7 separate regions of the Homo sapiens genome follow, and regions 1, 2, 3, 5, 6 and 7 are each linked to region 4. Evidence: promoter capture Hi-C in 16 types of primary human blood cells and fetal thymus (Javierre and others, 2016). All regions are on one chromosome and are shown on one strand. Each heading gives the region's core, a stretch centred on a gene start or on the middle of the fragment in contact. The rest is flanking DNA. Distances are from core to core; before and after follow the strand shown.

Evidence for each region. Contacts are between HindIII fragments. The CHiCAGO score rates a contact against its expected background, and 5 or more counts as called.
Region 1: a contact is called between a fragment that was not itself captured here and the fragment with the promoter of ADAM10 in region 4, in 12 of 17 cell types (megakaryocytes, total CD4 T cells, erythroblasts and 9 more). The highest score is 8.6, in megakaryocytes.
Region 2: a contact is called between a fragment that was not itself captured here and the fragment with the promoter of ADAM10 in region 4, in 10 of 17 cell types (fetal thymus, megakaryocytes, erythroblasts and 7 more). The highest score is 11.0, in fetal thymus.
Region 3: a fragment that was not itself captured here is called in contact with the fragment with the promoter of ADAM10 in region 4 in 14 of 17 cell types (megakaryocytes, M2 macrophages, fetal thymus and 11 more); the score reaches 28.3 in megakaryocytes.
Region 5: a fragment that was not itself captured here is called in contact with the fragment with the promoter of ADAM10 in region 4 in 1 of 17 cell types (megakaryocytes); the score reaches 5.2 in megakaryocytes.
Region 6: a contact is called between a fragment that was not itself captured here and the fragment with the promoter of ADAM10 in region 4, in 14 of 17 cell types (megakaryocytes, M0 macrophages, erythroblasts and 11 more). The highest score is 22.1, in megakaryocytes.
Region 7: a contact is called between a fragment that was not itself captured here and the fragment with the promoter of ADAM10 in region 4, in 10 of 17 cell types (erythroblasts, megakaryocytes, endothelial precursors and 7 more). The highest score is 9.0, in erythroblasts.

Annotation. Positions count from the first base shown.
Region 1 is chr15:58,414,945-58,418,232 of GRCh38, forward strand. No RefSeq gene overlaps it. Among named protein-coding and RNA genes, the nearest start is that of LIPC, 15 kb to the right of the region's middle. The HindIII fragment of the contact is 2,111 bases long and covers 904-3,014 here.
Region 2 is chr15:58,351,127-58,354,173 of GRCh38, forward strand. No RefSeq gene overlaps it. Among named protein-coding and RNA genes, the nearest start is that of LIPC, 79 kb to the right of the region's middle. The HindIII fragment of the contact is 1,345 bases long and covers 643-1,987 here.
Region 3 is chr15:58,263,140-58,266,173 of GRCh38, forward strand. No RefSeq gene overlaps it. Among named protein-coding and RNA genes, the nearest start is that of AQP9, 130 kb to the left of the region's middle. The HindIII fragment of the contact is 4,002 bases long and covers 1-3,034 here.
Region 4 is chr15:58,748,034-58,751,007 of GRCh38, forward strand. ADAM10 (ADAM metallopeptidase domain 10) reads right to left here and starts at 1,674. Exons shown (of 16, transcript NM_001110.4): 1 at 1,447-1,674. The coding sequence starts at 1,501. RefSeq lists enhancers at 807-1,442, 894-1,023, 2,114-2,293 and silencers at 1,134-1,423, 1,754-2,043. The HindIII fragment of the contact is 2,079 bases long and covers 399-2,477 here.
Region 5 is chr15:58,316,086-58,319,215 of GRCh38, forward strand. No RefSeq gene overlaps it. Among named protein-coding and RNA genes, the nearest start is that of LIPC, 110 kb to the right of the region's middle. The HindIII fragment of the contact is 587 bases long and covers 1,381-1,967 here.
Region 6 is chr15:58,241,578-58,244,761 of GRCh38, forward strand. It overlaps LOC124903499 (a long non-coding RNA gene), which reads left to right. Exons shown (of 3, transcript XR_007064653.1): 2 at 541-626; 3 at 2,676-3,015. Among named protein-coding and RNA genes, the nearest start is that of AQP9, 100 kb to the left of the region's middle. The HindIII fragment of the contact is 6,517 bases long and covers 1-3,184 here.
Region 7 is chr15:58,299,570-58,302,790 of GRCh38, forward strand. No RefSeq gene overlaps it. Among named protein-coding and RNA genes, the nearest start is that of LIPC, 130 kb to the right of the region's middle. The HindIII fragment of the contact is 510 bases long and covers 1,048-1,557 here.

The sequences.
Region 1 (3,288 bases), core at 709-3,208, 330 kb before region 4:
ATGTAGCCACTAATTAAGGTAAATTCTACTGATGCCAGAAGATTATAACAAATCACAGAATATCTTTTGTAAAGGAATTACTATTTGGGCTGGACCCAGTGGCTCATGCCTGTAATCCCAGCACTTTGGGAGGCCAAGGCTGGTGGATCACAAGGTCAGGAGTTCAAGACCAGCCTGACCAACATGGTGAAACCCCGTCTCTACTAAAAAATACAAAAAAAAAAAAAAAAAAAAAAAATGGCTGGGTGTGGTGGTGCATGCCTGTAATCCCAGCTGCTCACGAGGCTGAGGCAGGAGAATCACATGAACCCGGGAGGTGGAGGTTGCAGTGAGCAGAGATCACGCCATTGCACTCCAGCATGGGCAACAGAGCAAGACTCCATCTCAAAAAAAAAAAAAAAAAAAAAAGGAAAATTGAAGAAATGAAGACATTAAGGATATTCCTGAAGGGAAAGACTGTGTAAATCTCATTAAACAAAAATGTAAACTCTGTGAAACAAGACATTACAGGCGATATGAAAGATAAAATGCAAACTGGGAGGATATCTGCAATGAACTAATAGAAATAAGGACAAAAGATATGAATAAGCTATTCTCAGCAACAGAAATTTGAATGAACAATCACACACGTAAGAAAATGTTCAACCTCACCAGTAATCAGAAAATTTAAAATTAAAACAATGAGATACCATTTTACATCCATCAAACTGGTGAAAATTAAATAATCTGACACTCCTCAAGTGTTGGTGATGAGGTGGAAAAACTGAAGGAACACTCACATTTTGCCAACGATACTTTCACGGAAGTAATTTATTTGAAGAATAAATTGTCAACATCTTACTAACTCTGATGGGACATATATCTTACAATCCAGCAATTTCACTTCTAGGAATAAACTCTAGAAGCTTTCACTTGTGGATGATGCAATGTCTACTGCAATATTGTAATAGGAAAATGAAAAAACTAAATAACACAAGTATCCATCAACCCAATGAACAAATTCTGATACTTTCTTAAAATGGGACCATTTGTAGGTGTTTTATCAACAGAGATAAATCTCGAAAATACACTGCTGAGTGACAAAACAAGTTGCAGATAGATGTGTAGAGTATAAAAGTTTGAAAACATACAAAATAATGGTACAATCATCCCTCTATATCCATGGGATTCCACATCCATAGATTCAATCAACCGAGGATGCAAAATATTTGGGGGGAAAATTATACAAAATTCCAAAAGGCAAAACTTGAATTTGCCACATCCTGAGTACCATGTTAAAACCAGGCAAATGAAGGGATGTATAGGCATTGTATTAAGTATTATAAGTAATCTAGAGGTGATTTACAGCATATGACAGAATGTGCATAGGTTATATGCAAACACTACACCATTTTGTATCAGGGACTTGAGCATCAGTGGGTGGTCCTGGAACCAATCCCACACAGATACTGAGGAACTACTGTATATTTTTCGTAGCTACATACATATGCTGCAAACATATACACACAGAGATGAGAATGAAAGACACCAAACTCAGGGTGGCGTTGCCTCTGAGACAGGAAAAATAAGATCAGGCTTGAGAAGAGATACACAGTTATACAGGTACAGCACTCTATTTTTTAGCAAAAATAGGAAGCAAGTACAGCAAAATATTAGGATTTGATGGAGCTGGGAAGTAGGTGGTATTCAAAACTATGCATTATACGCATGCGTGTGTTTGAAATCATTATAATTTCTTAAGTGAGCACCTCAGTTTTTACATATAAAAACATATAAAGTATGTAAAATATATAAATATCATGAACAGATAATTCATAAAGAAAGAAAAAAGGCAATAAAAATGGAAGTGGTGGTAAATTCAACTTCAACCCATTGGTTTTAAAGAAAAATTTAAAAATGCACATACCATTTTGGCTTATCAATTTAGCATAAAATTACAAAAATGTTAATAGCTAATGTTAACAAGGGTGGAGGATAGGACAGAGGAGGAGTACACTCACTGCTAATGAGTACTTAAAATGACAGAAATTTACTTAACGTAGCAGTGTATATGTAAAGGCAAAATATATAGGTAGATATAGATACCTAGATATAAAACCTTTGCCTTAGCAATTCTACTTTAAGAAATTTATACAAAGGAAAACGTGGTACATATATGATCTGTAGTATTATTTTTAAGGAATACTACGCAGCCATAAAAAAGAACAAAATCACATCCTTTGCAGCAACATGGCTACAGCTGAAGGTCATTATCCTAAGCAAATTAACACAAAAGCAGATAAACACTGCACGTTCTCACTTATAAGTGGGAGCTAAACATTGAGTACAAGTGGACATAAAGATGGAAATAATAGACAGTGGCATTCTAAAAGGGGTGAGAAGGAGAGGGGGACAAAGGTTAAAAAAACCTATCGGGTACAATATTCACTACTTGGGCAATGGAACCATTAGAAGCTCAAACCTCGGCATCACACAATATACCCATGTGACAAACCTGCACATGTTCCCTCAGAATCTAAAATTTTTTTAAGCTACTAAAAAAATAATTTATACAAAGAAAATCATACATGTGGACCAAGATTTATGCATATGTTTATAATAGCATTGTTCATAATAGTGTTATCTTAAATACAGTTAATGAAAAAACAATAGGGAATTAAGCCAATTATGGTACATCTATAGAGTGTAACTGTACTCTGTAGCTATTTCAAATAATGTTTTAAAAGAATATTTAATGCCCCTGAAATATGCCATTAATGTGTTGTTAATACACAGGTATTTAAACACTTTGTACAGTGTGTTTACAGTTATTTTTTTTAAATAATTGTATACATAGAAAAAATGACTTGGGGATATCCACATCAAAATGTCAACAGTGCTTATCTCTAAATGTGAAATCACAGACCTATGTATGTTTTTCTTTTTGTTCTTCTTTATTTTCCTATTTTACAATAATAAACATTTATTGATTTTATAATAGAAAAGTTATTAAAAATAAAACGTGCAACAAAATAAGCTTTGGTTGATTAAAGATTTAAATATAAAATCAAATTATGATAGAACTTGCAGACAACTGGAAAGAGAGTTTATCAGCTCTCTGGGGTAATTTTAACTTTCTCAGCTTTGAAGCAATTGAAATGATTGCACTATAAAAATTAGCATTACTGAAGATTTTTTAAGAGGGAAAATATTTCTATCAAACATTACAAAGAATTAAGATCCATCATAAATAACTAATTCAAATTTGTAAAATAAATGTCAAGATTCCAAAAGATAAATGGGTCAAAG
Region 2 (3,047 bases), core at 65-2,564, 400 kb before region 4:
TTAAAAGAAAGGAAGTCCCACACAGTACTCATTCGGAGTATCCAACTTATAGAATTCATGACATAAAGTTCTTTTGATTTTGGTGGGCTGATTCTCCCATCTGATGCCTCTGACAAATGAAGACCCCACACGTGTATACCTCTATATTTACTAGATTATACCTTCCCAGAATAGTCGTGTTCATCACTATTGTAAAAGAAACTTGATAGTAGTAGGTAATTCACTAGAACTCTTTTTCATTTTTGCCAATCATTAGGTGAAAAATTGGTTTTCACAGTGTTCTTTTAATTGGCATTACCCCAACAGCTATGGGATGAGAACGTTTTTAAGTGTTTATTTTATTACCTGTTCATATACTTTTCCCATTTTTCCTTTTGTTTCACCTATAATTTTTCTTATTAATTGGTAATAAATGTTTGGATATATGTTGCTTTCTTGACTTTTTAAATGGTGACTTTCATCCCTTTTAACACATTATATGTTGGTTTTTCCAGAATTACTTTAGTTTTAGTTTTAAAAATCCATATATACAGAAGCATATAAAGAAGAAAGTAATAAAAAAATTTTTCTGCTTTGAAGTTCTTAATTTTTCCTTGCAATTCTTCCATTCTCAATTTTCATAATTCAGATAATCTTATTTCAAGCTTTACATATGGTTTTGAATTCTTGGTTTTTCACACAATATCCTATCATAAGCATTTCCCTGGCCCATTAAAAGCCTTAATAAACATATTTTAAATGTTATCATATGAAAAACTATTATTTAATTTAATCCCTTCAAAAGTGTCAGAAATGTGGGTCATTCCCAGTTTCTACCTATTATAAATAATATTATTATGAGCTTCATGTGCATAAATATATTTGCATTCCTAGTTGTTTCCTTACAATTCTCAAGAGTGAAATTAAGTTAAACCTATTAAGAAAGTAAAGGAATAAAGAATGATTACTCCACAGGCAAAGCAGTGGCATACACCACTGTCACTCATTTTTATGATTATTTCTTGACTATATACAAAACAAGGGGTGGATTATTCATGAGTTTTCTGGGACAGGGGCGGGCAATTCCTGGAACTAAGGGTTCCTCCCTATTTTAGACCATATAGGGTAACTTTCTGTCATTGCCATGGCATTTGTAAACCGTCATGGTGCTGATGGGAGTGTATTTTAGCATGCTAATACATTATAATTGGCATATAATGAGCTGTGAGGATGACCAGAGGTCACTCCCATCACCATCTTGGTGTTGGTGGGCTTTGGCTGGCTTCTTTACTGCAAACTGTTTTATCAGAAAGGTCTTTAAGATCTTTATCTTGTACTAACCTCCTATCTCATCCTGTGACTTAGAATGCCTAGCCTCCTGGGAATGCAGCTTTGACCCACCCTCTATATGAGATGGAGTCACTCTGGTTCCACAGCCTCTGACATTTCCCCCTTCCCTTTTATAAGAGAACCCTTAACCCTAAGGGTTGTAGAGGGACAAAGATCCATCTTCTGTAACTTCTTCAGGCTGAATGGGGCGATCATATTCCTGCCTAACTGTTAGGGTCTCTTGTATTCAGGGTAGACAAGAGCTCAGTCAGAAAGCATCAGTATGTCAAGGGCCACTCATAACTCAAGTTCTGACAAAAGATGATATCCAAAGTTGGCCAATCATTGCTGCAGTCTATTTCCTTTGGGTTGGAGGTCTCAGTATCATCCTTTCATGGTTCGCCAGAAAGATGTTATCAGAAAGGGGTCCAGATCCAGACCCCAAGAGAGGTTCTTGGATCTCACACAAGAAAAAATTTGAGGCGAATCCACAGAGTAAAGTGAAAGCAAGTTTATTAAGAAAGAAGGAATAAAGAATGGCTACTCCATAGACAGAGCAGCCAAAACATAGAGACATTTAAAGGCTTTTGTTAATATAGCTCAGCTTATTTTGAGGACTCATTTGCAAACCAATGTTTTACATCTGAAAAGAAATAGTGCAGTGAAAGCATCACACTCAAGCTTGTCCAAGCTTTGGTGGTTGTGGTAGCAGTGGCTTGGGATATTCAATATAAACATATTACATTTACTGTCTATAAGCGACTATTTTGGGTACAAGAGGAATGTGAATAAGGGTGACAGGATCCTGGCCTCAAAGAGCAAAGGATCTGGGAGAAAGATGAACAATCACTGATCAGGTATGACACACAAAAAAATTCAAACAAATCCTTAACAAAATTTTAAGTCGGTTTGTGGAGGGGGTACTATGGTAAAACAAGGCAGTTGGGAAGATAACTTCTTATACTGTGGTCTCAAAAACCTCCTAAAGGGCAGTGGCGCCTTGTTTTTATAATCAATACTAGCAGTACCGTACATTTATACCAAGTCTAGGATTTGGAAAGTGGTTTGAGGATTTTCCATAATTTCCTAGGTTTATGGGTTTTGCATCTTTGCTTTTATGATCTCCTGTTGGCCACCACTTGGTTTCCTTGTTACCAAGTCACTGGCACGCAGCCGCCATATTTTTCCGGTAGAGTTTCATTTTACAGCAGCCCATTCTGCACCAGGGGCTTGAGGACTGCACTGTGTCTTCAAGGCGGGGGCCGCTTACATTCGTTGCTGTTTAGGCTGTTTGCTACTGGCCCCCGGAGGAGGCTCTAGGGGATGGAGGGAGACCTGCCTTGCTGGCTTCCAGCAGCACACGCTTTTTCCCCTACTGAAAAGCTGAAGGGACCTTCAACACCACAACCAAACTTCAACAACTTAAAGACAGCGCTGTGTGACGGCCCTAGAGTCAGAAGTTCTGAATTTGACCTTGGTTTCACCACTTAGCAGCCATCTGATCTGGACAACCTGCTTACACCTCTCACCTTTCTTTCCTCAACTGTAACACAGAGCCAAGAAGGATCATGGAAAGACAAAAAGATAATGGATAGGAAAACACTTAAAAAGAGGAAATTGTCTTTGAAATATCAACATTTATTATGTTTTTAAAAATCTAAATGAAAGATTTTGTAGTCCCTCCTCTCTGAACAAATTCTGATGTCCACACTAGGGGCAGTGGGGGACACTGATGTATT
Region 3 (3,034 bases), core at 56-2,555, 490 kb before region 4:
GTACTTACACTTACTTCATGTCATGCACTCTTATTTTCTGTACTATTCTTTTTTGTTTTGTTTTGTTTTGTTTGAGACAGAGTCTCGCTCTGTCCCCTATTTTTTAATTGCTTGTTTGTAACCCTCTAATTTTATTTCATAATCCATGAATGGGTCACAGCTCTGCAATTTGAAAAATACTACACTTTATAAGCAATCTAGGGATAAAACAAACAAACAAACAAAAACCTACACTTCCCTAACCTTTCCAAGTTAACCTTCTGGAGACTGGTGTACTGCAATCCAAAAGGTTCAGGACAGGGTGGAGTGAAGGGAATCTGTCATGGTATGCACGGCATTGAGAGTTTTGAGACTCAGGAGATATATTCTCCTAGGGCCAAGTATCTAAAGTAGCCCCAAGCATCTACTGCCTTCTGACTGCTGAGAAGGGCACCAGCCTCCCTCCGCTCTATCCTTTCCCCTGCAAATGCATTCACTTCTGTTCCAAGAGATAAAGCAGTTTTTGACCTTACATAAATACACAGAGATGTACATAAGAAAAGTTTATTTCAGCATCATCTATGATGCCAAAACCAAAACATCCCAAATGGCCCTCAGTAAATGCACCTCAGTACAACCAGACAAAGGAACACCATGTGTCCATTAAAAATAATGAAATAAGTTATGTAAGTACTGAAAACTTTCCATGATACACTAACTGCAGAAATCAATTGGCCCTACAGTTCTCCAATGTAATTTCATTTTTATTTTTGTAAAGTTAGTATGTGTATGGTAAACATATGGAAAAATAGGCTCAAAATTATTTGTGGTAATCATCTGCGGGGGCATGATTACGGAACACTTTCTTTCATTTTCTAAGTCATACATTTCCATAGCGTTTGAACTTTTTACTGCAAGCATGAATTATTTCTAAAATGAGAAAAAGCAATACCTTTTCATTTAAAAAAGGCAAAATACAAAAAGAAGGTATTTTATAAGGTGGCATCGTAAGTTCCTTTGAAGGTACAATAGCAGTCCTTCAGCGAATAAAGTATGCATTCAAAAGTGAGACAGGAAACATTTCTGTAAGTTCATGCCCTCAGATAACATCTTTGCTCCAACATATAGACATATCAGATAAAGAACAAATGGAGAAGACTTATACACTGTAGTGAGACTCAGAAACCAGATAAACATCCCTGTGTACTACAAATGACAAGAAAGCCCACCAGGAGCTGGACTGAGGCCAGGGCTTTGGTGCCTGGTTCTGAAAGCTCAGATGGTGGCTCCCACAAGGCTGTAAGGGCTAAAAGGGGTAGGGATGGAGGGAGTGGAAAGTCAGGGTTTGGGGCTCCCAAACCTTCTGGAAAGCTAGAAAATGCTGCCTGGAACATTGTTTTGTTTTAATCAAGGGTTTGTTACCCTGGCTGCATCTTTAACTTGATAAGTTTTTAGAAAAATACCACTGCCCAGAAATTCTGACTTAATTTCTTTAATTCTTTCTCCCTCTCTCTCTCCTTTCCCTCCCCGTTTCCCAGTCCCTTCCCTCCTTCTCCCTCTTCTCCCTTTACTCCTCTCTCTTCCCCTCCTAATCTCTCTCCCTCTTCTCCCTTTACTCCTCTCTCTTCCCCTCCTACTCTCTCCCCCTCTCCCTCTTTCCTGTTTAAAGGACTCCTTTGGAGATTGCAACATACATCCAGGATTGATGTTAATTAACACCTTGGGCTTAGGGGTCAACGGATCCAGACAAAGGCTCTGCCCAGGTACTCAGCCAAGCAAGCAGCCAGCTTGAAGATGAGATTTGGGATTTGCCCCCATTGTGGGTACTTCTGAACATCAGCAAGGCCTGCTTAGGGACTGGAGGCCCTGGGGAAGGGAGTGGGGTTTAGGAGGGAGCCAAATACTGCTATTCAGAGTGAGGTAATGGGACAGAGAGACAGACAGGGAAAAAACATGTTCCTCCACAGGCAAACGGATGAATACATGATGTACTCATATAACAGAATGTTATAGAGTGATGAAGATTTGTAACCCAGCATTAACATGGCACCAAAGTGGATATCCCTCAAAAACATAATGCTGAGTTATAGAAACATTTTACAGCATGGTTTGTATGTTATGATGCCATTTATTTACATTTTAAACACTAGGAACCAAAAACCATATATTGTTTTGCAGCTAAAACTATTAAAATATTCATGAGATTCTAACACACTGACTTCGGGGCAGGGGTTCCCTTTGGCAAGGGAGGAAGAGGAGTGGGGTTGAAGAGAGGTGCACAGGGAAGAATAAATGGGAACAAACCGTGGGTACCCGCACTGCACAACTTGGGTGGATCTGAAGGCATCGTGCTGTGTGTAAGAAACTGGTAGTAAAAGGTCACATAATTTATTACTCCATTTATGACATTTATGAAAAGACAAAATTATAGTGATGAAGAATAGATTAGTGGTTGTCAGGAGGAAGATGGGACTACAAAGGGATAGTCCACCAGGGTGGTGGGGTTCTTCTGTATCCCAGCTGTGGTGATGGTAACGCAAATCTACACGTGCATTAAAATTCACAGGACTGGCCATGCTCAAAGGCTCACGCCTGTAATCCCAGCACTTTGGGAGGCCGAGGCAGGCGGATCACGAGGTCAGGAGATCGAGACCATCCTGGCTAACATGATGAAACCCCGTCTCTGCTAAAAATACAAAAAATTAGCCGGGCGTGGTGGTGGGCGCCTGTAGTCCCAGCTACTTGGGAGGCTGAGGCAGGAGAATGGCGTGAACCCGGGAGGTGGAGCTTACAGTGAGCTGAGATAGCGCCACTGCACTCCAGCCTGGGTAACAGTGCAAGACTCCGTCTCAAAAAAAAAAAAAAAAATTCACAGGACTAAATTTCACAAAGAAAAGTAGAATGGATGGTTGCCAGGGACTGAGGGAAGGGACTCATTACATAATGGATATGGAGTTTCAGTTTGAGAAGATGAAAAGATTCTAGAAATGTATAGTGGTAGTGGTTGTACGACAATGTGTATGCACTTAGCATGAATTGGACACTTAAAAATGGT
Region 4 (2,974 bases), core at 424-2,923:
GCTCCTCTAACAGAGAGTCTCCCGCACATAATCCTTTTTAAAACTAAACATCTATTATCAGCTCTTAATCTATAATGTGTGTCTTGCTTGATGAATTGGATTGAAAAAAATTAAATAAAACGTGTAACAAAAAAATGAACACTACAAACTATAACAGAAGTCTGCCTACGCAGTACCACCCTCGGACTCGGTAGAATACAGGACAGAAATACACTTGGTCCTGCAGTCATAAGTCAAAGTGGCAAAGAAAAAAACAGAAACAATACATTACATGAAATAGATATTTTCTAAATTATCAAAGGCTACAGACACTCATCCAAAGCATTCCTCAAATTTTTTCAATCGTTGCTTTTAGGCACACCTTGAGGTTTTTAAGTTTACTCTGGGGCAAGTCAAAAAGCTTACCTAAAATAAAGCACTTTAAGCAAGAATAAAATGATGCAGCTGGTCCTAGAACACACCGGAAATAAAAATCGTTGTCTTCAAAACCCGAAACAAGAAATGACATGCTTTTAGCAAATTTGACTTTCATGTGCAGGGGGGAGGGGGCACTGTTTTGACAATCCACTAACTACACTGTACATCTACTCCACCTGAAAGTTTAACGAAACTCTTCAAGTTGGGTCACCCAGGGACCGAACTTCTACTCTAAGAGACCCAATCCAGCCTACAAATCAAAGAACATCCCCAAATGGTTTACCCTTCTCCCGACCAAACCCTTTCCCCTGGGCGACAGAATGTTTTCAAGAACACCAACACACCCTCCTGTGATCTCTCTCCAAACACAGGACACAGGAAGAACCGAGGCCACTAGTCTCAGATAAGCGGGTGATGACTGCTGCCACTCCACGGGCGGCCCCTCTGCAGAATGGGGTCGGTCAGGACCGGCGCGCCGGGTAAAGAACAATACACGAGCCCAGCTGCAAACAACACAACTTCCCACGAGTCTGCGCGGCGGGTCTCGGCGGCGGAGAGGACTTCGGAATCCGCCACCGGGCAGGGGCTGGGGGAGGAATGGTGAGCAGGATGAGCGCTGAACGAGGACGGCGAGACCGCCAGCCTCGCTGCGGCTGCCTGCACCGGCGCCCGCCGAGCAGACTGGAGGGATGCAGCCACCAGCCTGGGTTCCACCGCTCTCACCAGGCGACGCGGATGCCCCGACTTCGCTTCTCTGGGAGGCGACCCCCGCCTCCCGGGGCCGCCAGGGCGGTGGGGGGCGGGGAAGGCCTCGCCGGAGGCTTGGGAGCCTCCTCGGCCCGCCACCGAAGGGAAAGCGGTCGGGGCGCGGGGGACAATAGGGAGCGGGGAGCGCGGCCCGCCAGAGTGGCGCCGCTGGCCGGCTGGGCTGACTGACGCGCACGCCGCGAGGCGCGACTGGGCTCCGCTCGGCCCGGCCGCCGCTCCGCCGTGGTCGCGGCGCCCCCGGCGCTCGCAGTCGTGCCTCACCTCCCATCCCCGCCGCCCAGGAGAGGAGCAGAATTAACACTCTCAGCAACACCATCTTCCGCTGCCGCTGCCGCCGCCGCCGCCTCCTCACGGGTTAACAGCAGCACATCGATCCGGAGGGAGAAGCTGAAGGGGCTTGGTCCGGAGCCTCCACGGGAAGCCGGGACCTCCCCTGGCAGGAGAAACGGCGAAGCACCTCCCTCTCGCTCCACTTCAGGGGCCGGCAACGCTCCTAGCTCCTCCAAAACAGGGACCTCCCTCCCCCTCGTTCGTTTCCTTCCTCCTTTCCCCGCTTTCCTTCCCTTGCTCGTTCCCTCTTCTCTCCCCCCCTCCTTCGAAACTCAGACCTCCGCCTCCTTCCTCACCACGTGACGCGCGGGCACCCAACTGGCACGCGGAGCCGCGCCCCTACCTCCCGCCCCTACCCGTCCCCCAGGCGCTTCAGGGGCGCGCGCATGCGCGCGGGGGACGGTTCCCGTGCTGCTAGGCCTGCCGCCGCTTCCTGTCCGCCGGCGGAGAGCTGGGATTGGGCTTGGGAGGCGGGGTTTGTCCTGGTCCCGCCCCGGGGCGGGAGCGCTCCTACGCGGAGATAGTGCTCCGCTACGTGTTAGAGCTGCTGAGGACCTTCCCTTGGGCTAAAATGGTCCGTGGAAGATGTAAGCAGGGCTGCTTTCGACTTCTTAACGTCACAAGTAACAGAGGTTTTTTTTCTTCTTTTTCTGCCTCTCTTGGTGCACCACAGCTACCAAGTAAACAAAAAGTCCCAACAAGCAGTAATTATAGCGGCAGCTGCCCCAGTGATGCGAACATAAATGCAAAGACCTTCAAGCAGCAGGAAAAAAAGACACCATGTCCGAGATGTAATTTTCCGAGCTCTTTACAAATTTATGTCACAGACTAAGGCTTTAGCCTTTGCAAAAGCATGCAACCTGAACCAGACTGTCTTGAATCTCCAGTCCAGAAAATGTCCTCTTTTCTCTCTGTCACATCTTTGAAGCGAATCCACGCACATCTTCTCCCCAACTTCTTAAAGCTTGTGTTTGTTTTCTCGTAACTCATTTTGATTCTTTAAACTTGGATGTCATGAACTAGAACTTTTTATGGCCATTTAATTAGATATTCTTCATCTATTTGGTATCGTGCTTGAGTAGGCCGAATTAGGGAGAGTGTGTGTGTGCGTGTGTGTGTGTGTGTATGTGTAAATTGTTTTGTTTTGCTTTCTAAAGACAAGGTCTCCGCTGTCTCGCCAGGCTGAAGTGCAGTGGTGTGATCATAGCTCACTGTAACCTCCAACTCAAGCCGAATTAGGGAGAGTGTGTGTGTGTGTGTGTGTGTGTAAATTGTTTTGTTTTGCTTTCTAAAGACAAGGTATCCGCTGTCTCGCCAGGCTGAAGTGCAGTGGTGTGATCATAGCTCACTGTAACCTCCAACTCAAGCGATCCTCCCGCCTCGGCCTCCCACAAGTGCTGGGATTACAGGCGTGAGCCACTGCGCTCGGCCTTAATGTTATTGATACTGTAATAAACTG
Region 5 (3,130 bases), core at 424-2,923, 430 kb before region 4:
TTCTTTTGCTGTGGAGAAGATCTGTAATTAGATCCCATTTGTCAATTTTCGCTTTGTTGCGATTGCTTTTGGCATCTTCGTCATGAAATCTTTGCCCGTGCCTATGTCCTGAATGGTATTGCCAAGATTTTCGTCTCTAGGGTTTTTATAGTTTGGGTTTTACATTTAAGTCTTTAATCCATCCTGAGTTGATTTTTGTATATGGTGTAAGGATGGGGTCCACTTTCAATTTTCTGTATATGGCTAGCCAATTCTCCCAGCACCATTTATTAAATAGGGAATCCTTTCCCCATTGCTTGCTTTTGTCAGGTTTGTTGAAGCTCAAATAGTTGTAGCTGCGCAGTCTTATTTCTGGGTTCTCTATTCTATTCCTTTGGTCTTTGTATCTGTTCTTGTACCAGTACCATGCTGTTTTGGTTACTGTATCCCTAAAGTACAGTTTGAAGTCGGTAACATGATGCCTGCAACTTTATTCTTTTTGCTTAGGATTGCCTTGTCTCTTCAGGCTCCTTTTTGGTTCCACATGGATTTTATAATTTTTTTTTCTAATTCTGTGAAGAATGTCAATGATAGTTTAATGGTAATAGCAAAGAATCTATAAATTGCCTTGGGCAGTATGGCCATTTTCATGATATTGATTCTTCCTATCCATAAGCATGGAATGTTTTTCCATTTGTTTGTGTCATCTCTGATTTCTTTGAGCAGTTTGTAGTTCTCTTTCAAGAGATCCTTCACTTCCCTCATTAGCTGTATTCCTAGGTATTTTATTCTTTTTGTGGCAGTTGTGAAAGGGACTTTATTCATGATTTGGCTCTTGGCTGGCCTGTTGTTGCCGTATAGGAATGCTAGCCATTTTTTCACATTGATTTTGTATCCTGAGACTTTGCTGAAGTTGGTTACCAGCTTAAGAATTGGGTTGAGACAGTAGGGCTTTCTAGGTATAGGATCATGTCATCTGCAAACAAAGATAGTTTGACTTCCTTTCTTCCTAGTTGAATACGCTTTATTTCTTTCTCTTGCCTGATTGTCCTGGCCAGAACTTCCAATACTATGTTGAATAGGACTGGTAAGAGGACAATTGTGTCTTGTGTTAGTTTTCAGGGGGAATGCTTCCAGATTTTGCCCATGCAGTATGATATTGGTTGTGGGTTTATCATAAATGGCTCTTAATATTTTGAGGTATGTTCCTTCAATACCTAGTTTATTGAGAGTTTTTAACATGAAGGGATGTTGAATTTTACCAAGGCCTTTACTTTGTTCATTGAGATAATCATGTGGTTTTTGTCTTTAGTTTTTTATGTGATGAATCACATTTATTGATTTGAATATGTTGAACCAGCATTGCATCCAGAGATGAAGCCTACTTGATCATGGCGGATAAGCTTTTTGATGTGCTGCTGGATTTGGTTTGCCAGTATTTTGCTGAGGAGTTTTACACTGATGTTCATAAAGGATATTGGACTGAAGTTTTTTCTTTTTCTTTTTTTTTTTTTTTTTTTTTTTGTTGTTGTTGTATCTCTGCCAGGTTTTAGTATCAGGATAATGCTGGCCTCACAGAATGAGTTAGGAAGGCATTCCTCCTTTTCAGTTTTTCAGAATAGTTTCAGTAGGAATGGTACCAGCTCTTCTTTATACCTCTGGAAGTGTTCAGCTATAAATCCATCTGGTCGTGGGCTTTTCTTGGTTTGTAGGTTATTACCGCCTCAATGTCAGAACTCATTATTGGTCTATTCAGGGATTCAATTTCTTCCTGGTTCGGTCTTGGGAGGGTGTATGTGTCCAGGAGTTTATCCATTTCTTCTAGATTTTCTAGTTTATGTGCATAGAGGTGTTTACAGTATTCTCTGATGGTTGTTTGTATGATTTTCTTAGAAACATTGTCTTTTCTCTAGCTTACTTTATTATGACTACAATATATAATATATATTATATACAAAATATGTGTTAATCAACTATGTTATCAGTAAAGCTTCTGGTCAACAGTAGGCTATTTGTAGTTAAGTTTTTGAGAGTAAAAAGTTTTATGCAGAATTTTGACGGTACAGGGGGTCAGTCAGTACCCTAATCTTCATGTTGTTCAAGGGTCAACTGTAATTCGTATCTTGCCTTTTTTCAGAAAGAATTTAGGTTGACTCACAAAAATAGGTAAAATATATCAAAGGAATATAAATCAGTAGTAGGCAAGAAAGAAGAGACAAAAGGAAAATGAGATGGAAACATAAACAGAGCCAGGAATGAGGCCTATACAAAAACGCATGTCAAGAAATTCCGTGCCCTTGCTAAGGGTTGACTCTAAACCTTTCGGTGCCTGAAAACGAAAAGATGTTTAAAAAAAGTGTTAAGTCAGAGAAAGGCCATGGGAAGGAGTTGGGATGAGTGTGGAAGGAGCCAGAGAATACAGAGAAAAGAGGTATAGATTCATGATAGGCTTTTACTAATGCCGAATCACCTTCAGATGAGGGTGCTATGATATTGTGATCTCAGTATATGGGAAACGTAAACTTTACCACGTTTAGAGAGTGATGTATTAAGTTGGCTAAAAGTACTAAGATTAATAATATCTGACATTTATACAGAGTCTGGAGGACACATTGCACAGTGAAATGCACTACTACAAATAGCACGAAGCTCTCTGGGCACCAAGGTGCCAAGACTGCCAGGGTGGGAAGCCAGAATATCACTGTGGCCTACACATATGGGCTCAAGACGGACTGGAAGCTACTGATTCAAATGCAGATTGATTGTACAATGAGACTAAGCTCCCACTCCTCACCGAGGAGAACATCATTTGGATTTTCAGGCTCTGGCACAGTATGTAATTTAGACCAACCTCCCAGCAAAGATAATTTAAAGAAGGACAACACAATCACGTTTAATGTGGAGGACAAAATAATTGTCTATGTTGAAAATCAACAATGGAATCTACAAATGCTACTAGACCTAATAAGTGAGTTTTGCAAGGTTGCAGGATAAAAGATCAATATGCAAAACCAGCTGTATCTCTATACACAAGCTATAATCAGAACTTATAATTTAAAAACTATCATTTACAATAGCATGAAAAATCAAAATACTTAGAGATAAATTTCAAAAATTATGTGAAATACCTATCCACCAGAAGACATAAAAT
Region 6 (3,184 bases), core at 668-3,167, 510 kb before region 4:
TAACCTTCACTGCCTACAGAAGGTCAAAATGCCCACAATGTGCCAGGTACTATGCTAAGTATTTGGCAAATACTAATTCATTTTATCCCCATAAAACCCCATGAAGAGTGATCAGTTATTATCACCATTTACAAGTGAGGAAACTGAGGCACTGAAAGGGTCAGTAACTTGCCAAAGAGCATGAAGCTAGGAAGTGGACAAGGCAGTATCCAAACCCAGGTAGTCCAGTGCCAAGGCCAACACCTCCAACCAGTGTGTCTCAAGTCGTAATAACAATCACCGTTGCAAAGGTCTTCCCCAAGAAACAGAAAATTACCTGGATTCCAGAGATAACAGATGACGTTTATTGGAGATTCGATAATCTAATTGGGTCAAGGGAAAATGTTGAGTTGATCTTTCTGATTAAGTAGCTGCTGACCTAGAAAGAAGAGGGAGGTGTAGCCGAGCCCGTTGTCCTCCAGTGCCCTCCCCTCCCCTCCTGTCTGGTTTGATTCCCTGCTATTACAGTCACTCCTTTAACTTGCTGTCTTATTTATTCAGTGCACTTGAACTGAGTACTTTCCACATAACCGACGCTAGGGACACCGCAGGACATAGTTGCTGCCTCTGAGGAGCTCCCAAATTTGGTAAGAAGTCACCATTTGTTTTCACCTATATTGTCTAGTTAATCCTCAGAACCACCCCATGAAGTAAACAAGGTGAGAACAGATATACTCATTTTATGACGGGGCACACTGAGGCACCAAGGAGCTCATTGTTCTGCCCCATGTCTCCAACAATCACACTCATTAGAATTCCACCTGAAGCACTGTTTTGAGTATTCTGTCTTCTTGCCTCCACACTTACGAAATATACCTACATGGCCAATCTGTTAAAAGTTTCCACTAGTCATCAATGAAATGAGAAAAAAAATGATGATGGGAAAGTTTTTTCATTAAACTAAATTTTTTCTAATTAAAGAACCATTTTTCTTTTTTTTTCTTTTTTTATTATACTTTAAGTTTTAGGGTACATGTGCACAACGTGCAGGTTAGTTACATATGTATACATGTGCCATGTTGGTGTGCTGCACCCATTAACTCATCATTTAACATTAGGTATATCTCCTAATGCTATCCCTCCTCGCTCCCCCCACCCCACAACCGGCCCTGGTGTGTGATGTTCCCTTTCCTGTGTCCATGTGTTCTCATTGTAAAGAATGACTTTTCTATTCTGAAATTATGTCCTTCCTTCTTTTTGGTATTAAAATGCTCCTTTTTTAAATCGTAGTTTTTTTTTTTTCTTTTTACTGCACTTATACGGCAACACAAAATATTGGTGATTCTGCTGATTCCCAGACCTGTTTGCTGGTCTTTGAATCACTGCCGTAGATGCACATGATCCCTGAGAGGGACAGAAAGGCTATCCCATCATTCAGGGGCATAGGCGAGGCACTCTTACTATTTGCAGCACCCAAGGTGTCTGAGACCATGGCCTTGATGGGGAAGACAGGGACTCTTTGAGGAGCCTTGGATTGAGAAAAACAAGGAGCAGTGACATGCTGCGATCCCTTCACTCTGACTTACACGAGACCCAGGACTCTCCATAGCCATGGCAACTAGCCCAAAATGACAAGGCTGATTAATTCCACAAGTGCATTATTCACGTGTCACCAAATATTGACTCTTATCAACCTCCTTCCCCCAGCCATCTGTCCTCGTGTGTCAAATCAAAATAAATCAACAAACAAAAAGTGGCAGGCAGATGCCACCCCAGGGATGCTGCAATTGCACAGTCCCCAGGGCTAGTCTGAGTTCTAAGTGGCTCTTTCATTTCCCCATCTCCCTTCTTCCCCAGATGACTGGGAGTGTGCACACATGCGTGTGTGCGTGCACGCACACACACACACACACAGGTTTTAGATGGCAATGCTATGGGTATGTGAGAGGGAAACAGTTGGGGTTGAGGGCTGCTGGGATGGAAACGATTTAAAACATCCTAGGAAGTGATAATGATAAGAGACCATTTATTGAGCTCTTACTATATACCAGGCATATAAATGTCAAGCTAATGTTTAACCCTTACCACAACTCTGAGATATAGAAACTATTATTATTTCCACTTTATGGATGAAAAACTAAAAATAATTTACATTAATTGACTTGCCCCAGGTGAAACATCTAGCAATTCATGACCTGAATTCAAAGCCAATGCTGTGAATCCTTGCATGAGCCAACTCACCTGTCATTGTCACCTGGACGTGTCATTCGATCTCTCTGTGCCTCCATTTCTGGGTGCTCCATTACCATGATGCACCCAATTTACAGGGCTCTTGTGAGAGCTTAATGAGCTCATGCATGTCATGCGTTGAGAATAATCCCCAGAACATAACAAGTGCTCAGTATGTGTTGGCTATTGTTACTGATAGCATTGTTACTTTTTATTACACAATGTTGTCTCCCTTTGCTGAATGAAGGGAATGTGGAGGACACAGACTTTACAAGCAAAGAGAATATATTTCAGTGTATGAACATTCTTGGGAATCAAGTGCCAGAAGAACTACATCTCTGTCACCAAGCAGAGAATAAGTTGTTTTCTCTACATCTGCCCACACCAGGTTGCACATTCTATACCCTGTACATTGCTCAGCCTCTTGTTCTCCTCCCCACTTCCTCCTGTCTCTTCTCTTTTGACAGCTCTCCAGAGAGGCCTCTCACCCCACCTTCCATAGCTTTGTCTCCACTGAGTCAAAAGCTGTTAGATCATCTGTTTGTCCCCTGAGTGGTCCTTAGAATGAACAGCCAAATGGATGGCTTGGTGGTGGTGTGTGCCATGCCTGCAGGAAGCTCCCAAGGAAGCAATTTCCAGCACTTTCCCCTCTGCAGCTTCCCACCAAGCTATGCGAAAACATATCAATGATTTGACTGCAACGTCCCTGACAGCTGCTGCCCATCTCCACGTGGGGCCCTCCAATAACTGGAAACTTGGTCTTAAATTTTTTAACTTGGAAAATACAAACAATGACGACGACCGTGAATGTGAGTTATTTCTGTGATTTCTCTTTTCATTAAAGTCCATCCAGTCACCAGTTTGAGCCTGTCACAAATCTGCTTCTCTCCCACACGACCTTCTCTGGCCACTGACTGCATTTTCAAAAGTAGCCCAAGGCCAGAGAACAGCTGTTTGCTGATTCCCTCGAGAACAA
Region 7 (3,221 bases), core at 53-2,552, 450 kb before region 4:
GCCGATTCATGACTCAGTTTCATCCACTTCAGGACTCCCTGGGAGGCAACTTTCCCCCAGTTCACCTCTACCTCTCTGTGGATCACTGATTAAGCCTGGCTCTGCCTTCTTCACACCCTGGGCCTCCAGAGGTGACCCTCTGTGAAGCCTAGGCAGGGCCAAAGACAGGCCATCAGCTTCAAAGGAGAGGAGTGAGGTCTTTGTTTCCTTCACAGCAGTGGTTTTTAAACCACAGAAGTTGCTTAGAAAGGCCTCTGGGAACTCTCTTGGGGAAGACTGCAGGGGATGGAGGCCACAAGGACCTGTTTCTGTGTCTGTATTAGTCTGTTTTCACACTACTATAAAGACGCTACCTGATACTACCCAAGACTGGGTAATTTATAAAGGAAAGAGGTTTAATTGACTCACAGTTCTGCACGGCTAGAGAGGGCTCAGGAAACTTACAATCACGGCAGAAGTCAAGAGAGAAGCAAAGGCATGTCCTACATGGCAACAGGCAAGAGAGACCCAACGAGCAAAGAGGGAAGAGCCCCTTATAAAACCATCAGATCTCATGAGAACTCACTCACTTTCACGAGAATAGCATGGAGGAAACCACCCCCATGATCCAATCACCTTCCACCAGGTCCCGCTCTCAACATGTGGGGACTATAGGGATTACAATTTGAGATGAGATTTGGGTGGGGACACAGAGCCAGACCATATCAGTGTTAGATGAGCTAATGTGCTGAGGGCATTTCCCAGCACCTAATAAGGGTCCATACATCTCAGCTGTTACACACTGCTAGCAGGGGGCAGGATCTTCCAGATGCCAAGGGAAGAACTTTACATATGTTCTCCATGAAATCCTACTAAGGTTTCTGCAGAATAGGTATTACACTATCACAGTTTTATAGATGAAACTTGGACACGTTAAGTGGCTTGTCCAATGCCACACAGCAGCAGTATGTGGCAGAATCTGGTTTTGTATATGAATTAGTCTGACTCTAAAATGTGGACTCTTCCCCCTGGTCCGGGCTGTCTTATTTTCCCTTAGAAAAATCTGCAAGCTTCTCAATGCATGTGTTTCTTAAAATGACTAACAAAATACAAAATTTTTAAAAGGTAAACAAGAGCTATTAGGACAAAATCCAAAATGCCTGTCATTATAATCAGTGTGGGTATTGTAATGGAGCATAAAATGATGATCTGGCCTCCTGAAAGGCCAAAGAGTGATATAAAATACAATCAGTAAAATCTGTCTTCCTGAGCCCTCGTCCTCTGGTGGCTCTTCCTCCCACATCCCGGTATCTACCTCTATCCTTCTACCAGAAGTATTCTAGTGTCTACTGCTTGATCACCACCCAGGGTAGCATCCCATGCCCTGGTCTTATCTCTCCTCCTTCAGCTTGCGAGCCTGCCTTGGGTGATCAATTTTTCGTGCAATTTTTTGTGCAGGCATACAAATCAGAGAAAAAGCCATGTGCAAAAAAGAATTGGTCTGGGCAGCACAGGCAATTACAGACCAGGGCAGAGTACAGTGAAGGACCGTTTGAGGATTAGACAGGAGGGGCAGTAAGCTTATCTCCAGTGGAGGAAGCCTCTCCATAGGTCGTGGGCATGAGGGAGAATTCAGAACTGGAGTGTCTTTGGACACCTTACATATTGTATCACACAGTCTCCTGCCTACTTCACCACGGTTTTGGCTGCTCATTCTCTTCACAATCAGTGCAAGGTCAAACAAATTTTACCAAACAATCCTGGAAGAGCAGGATTATTTCCCTGAACATTGCATCCCCTTCCTACTCTGTTGGTGTGCGGGACAAATGCAGCTAATTAAATCTGATACTGAAGGCAGAGTACGTCAACCAGTGGTTCCCAGTTCCTGGGGGCTATGAAGATATTTCAGGGGTCTAAGAAACCATATGTGCACCAAGCACTTACTGTAGACTGACTATGCCTCCTATTATTGTGAACCACCATTTCACACATGTACGCAGATACTATTGAGGCCAAGGAGTTTCAGCTCAGAGAGAATGCTGAACACGGCAGGCCCCATGACAGATATTCCACTCCTTGCTTATATACCTGCAACATACCCTTCTTTCTTAACAGCTTTCAATACATCCTATTCATTGTAATGAGTATTACACAGCTATACACAACTCACTTGCTCCCAGCAAGAAGGCAACCAAAGACATGTGTTCTGCAGGTACTATGTGCAATGGCTAAGTCATGTGGACCCTTGAAAAGTTGACTTTCTGCAGCAAGCCCATGATCTTCTGATAATACTCCTCCAGTGTTCCTTCTGCAACCCTTTCTAACGATAGGTCCTCTCTATTCTGCAAACTCGGGGCAAATGGTGAATGGAGACACAACCAACACACCTGACAAATATGGTGGAAGGTGAACAGAGAATTTTTAAGCTGGCAATAAAGAAAATAATAACATCTATTTTGTTTTTTAAAAAAATGAAAGAGGGAATGGAGTAGTGTTATTCAATTGTCAGATACTTTAGCAGAGAGTGGAAAATTCACCTGAAAAAGAGGGAGGGACAATCCCCTTATTTCTACAACTGATCCTAAGGCTGTAGCTACCATTTATAACTCTCTTCTTCACCTCTTCCATGTTCCCTTTGCTTTTTGCCCAAGGGAGTAACTCTAACTTTTGCTATCAGAAAATCTTTTGGCTGCAAATAATAGAAAACCCAAGAGTGATTGGATCCAACTGCAAATACTAGAAAAGCTATCAGTGGTGTAAATAAATAGAGATTTGTTTTTCTCATATAGCAGGAAGTAGAAAGCAATTTCTGGTGTTGGTTTAGCAGTAATGCAGGTCTCTGGGTCACATCTCTGTTCTGCTCTCACGCTTTGCCTCCTGATCACAAGAAAGCCATCATGGGTGTCCAAGCCATGTTCAAGGCAAGAAGACTGAAGAGAGATTGACACCAGCTGCTTCCAGACTTTGTATCAGCAAAAGCAAAGCTTTCATAGGAGCTTCCAGCAACCTTCTCCTTCCATCCATCTTCCTGGCCAAAACTGAGTCACACCACCACTTCTGGCTGTATTTAAGGCTGTGAAATCAAATATCCAGCAAAAGGAGAGGGGAATGTCATACTGGCTTAAACCTAATGCAATTCTTTAACTGGGTCATCTTGAATAACCTTCCCCTAAACAAAATGAGCAAGAAAGACGTAAGGAAGTAACTGGGTAGATGGCACCCTTGCCTGTCTTGTCTAGTCA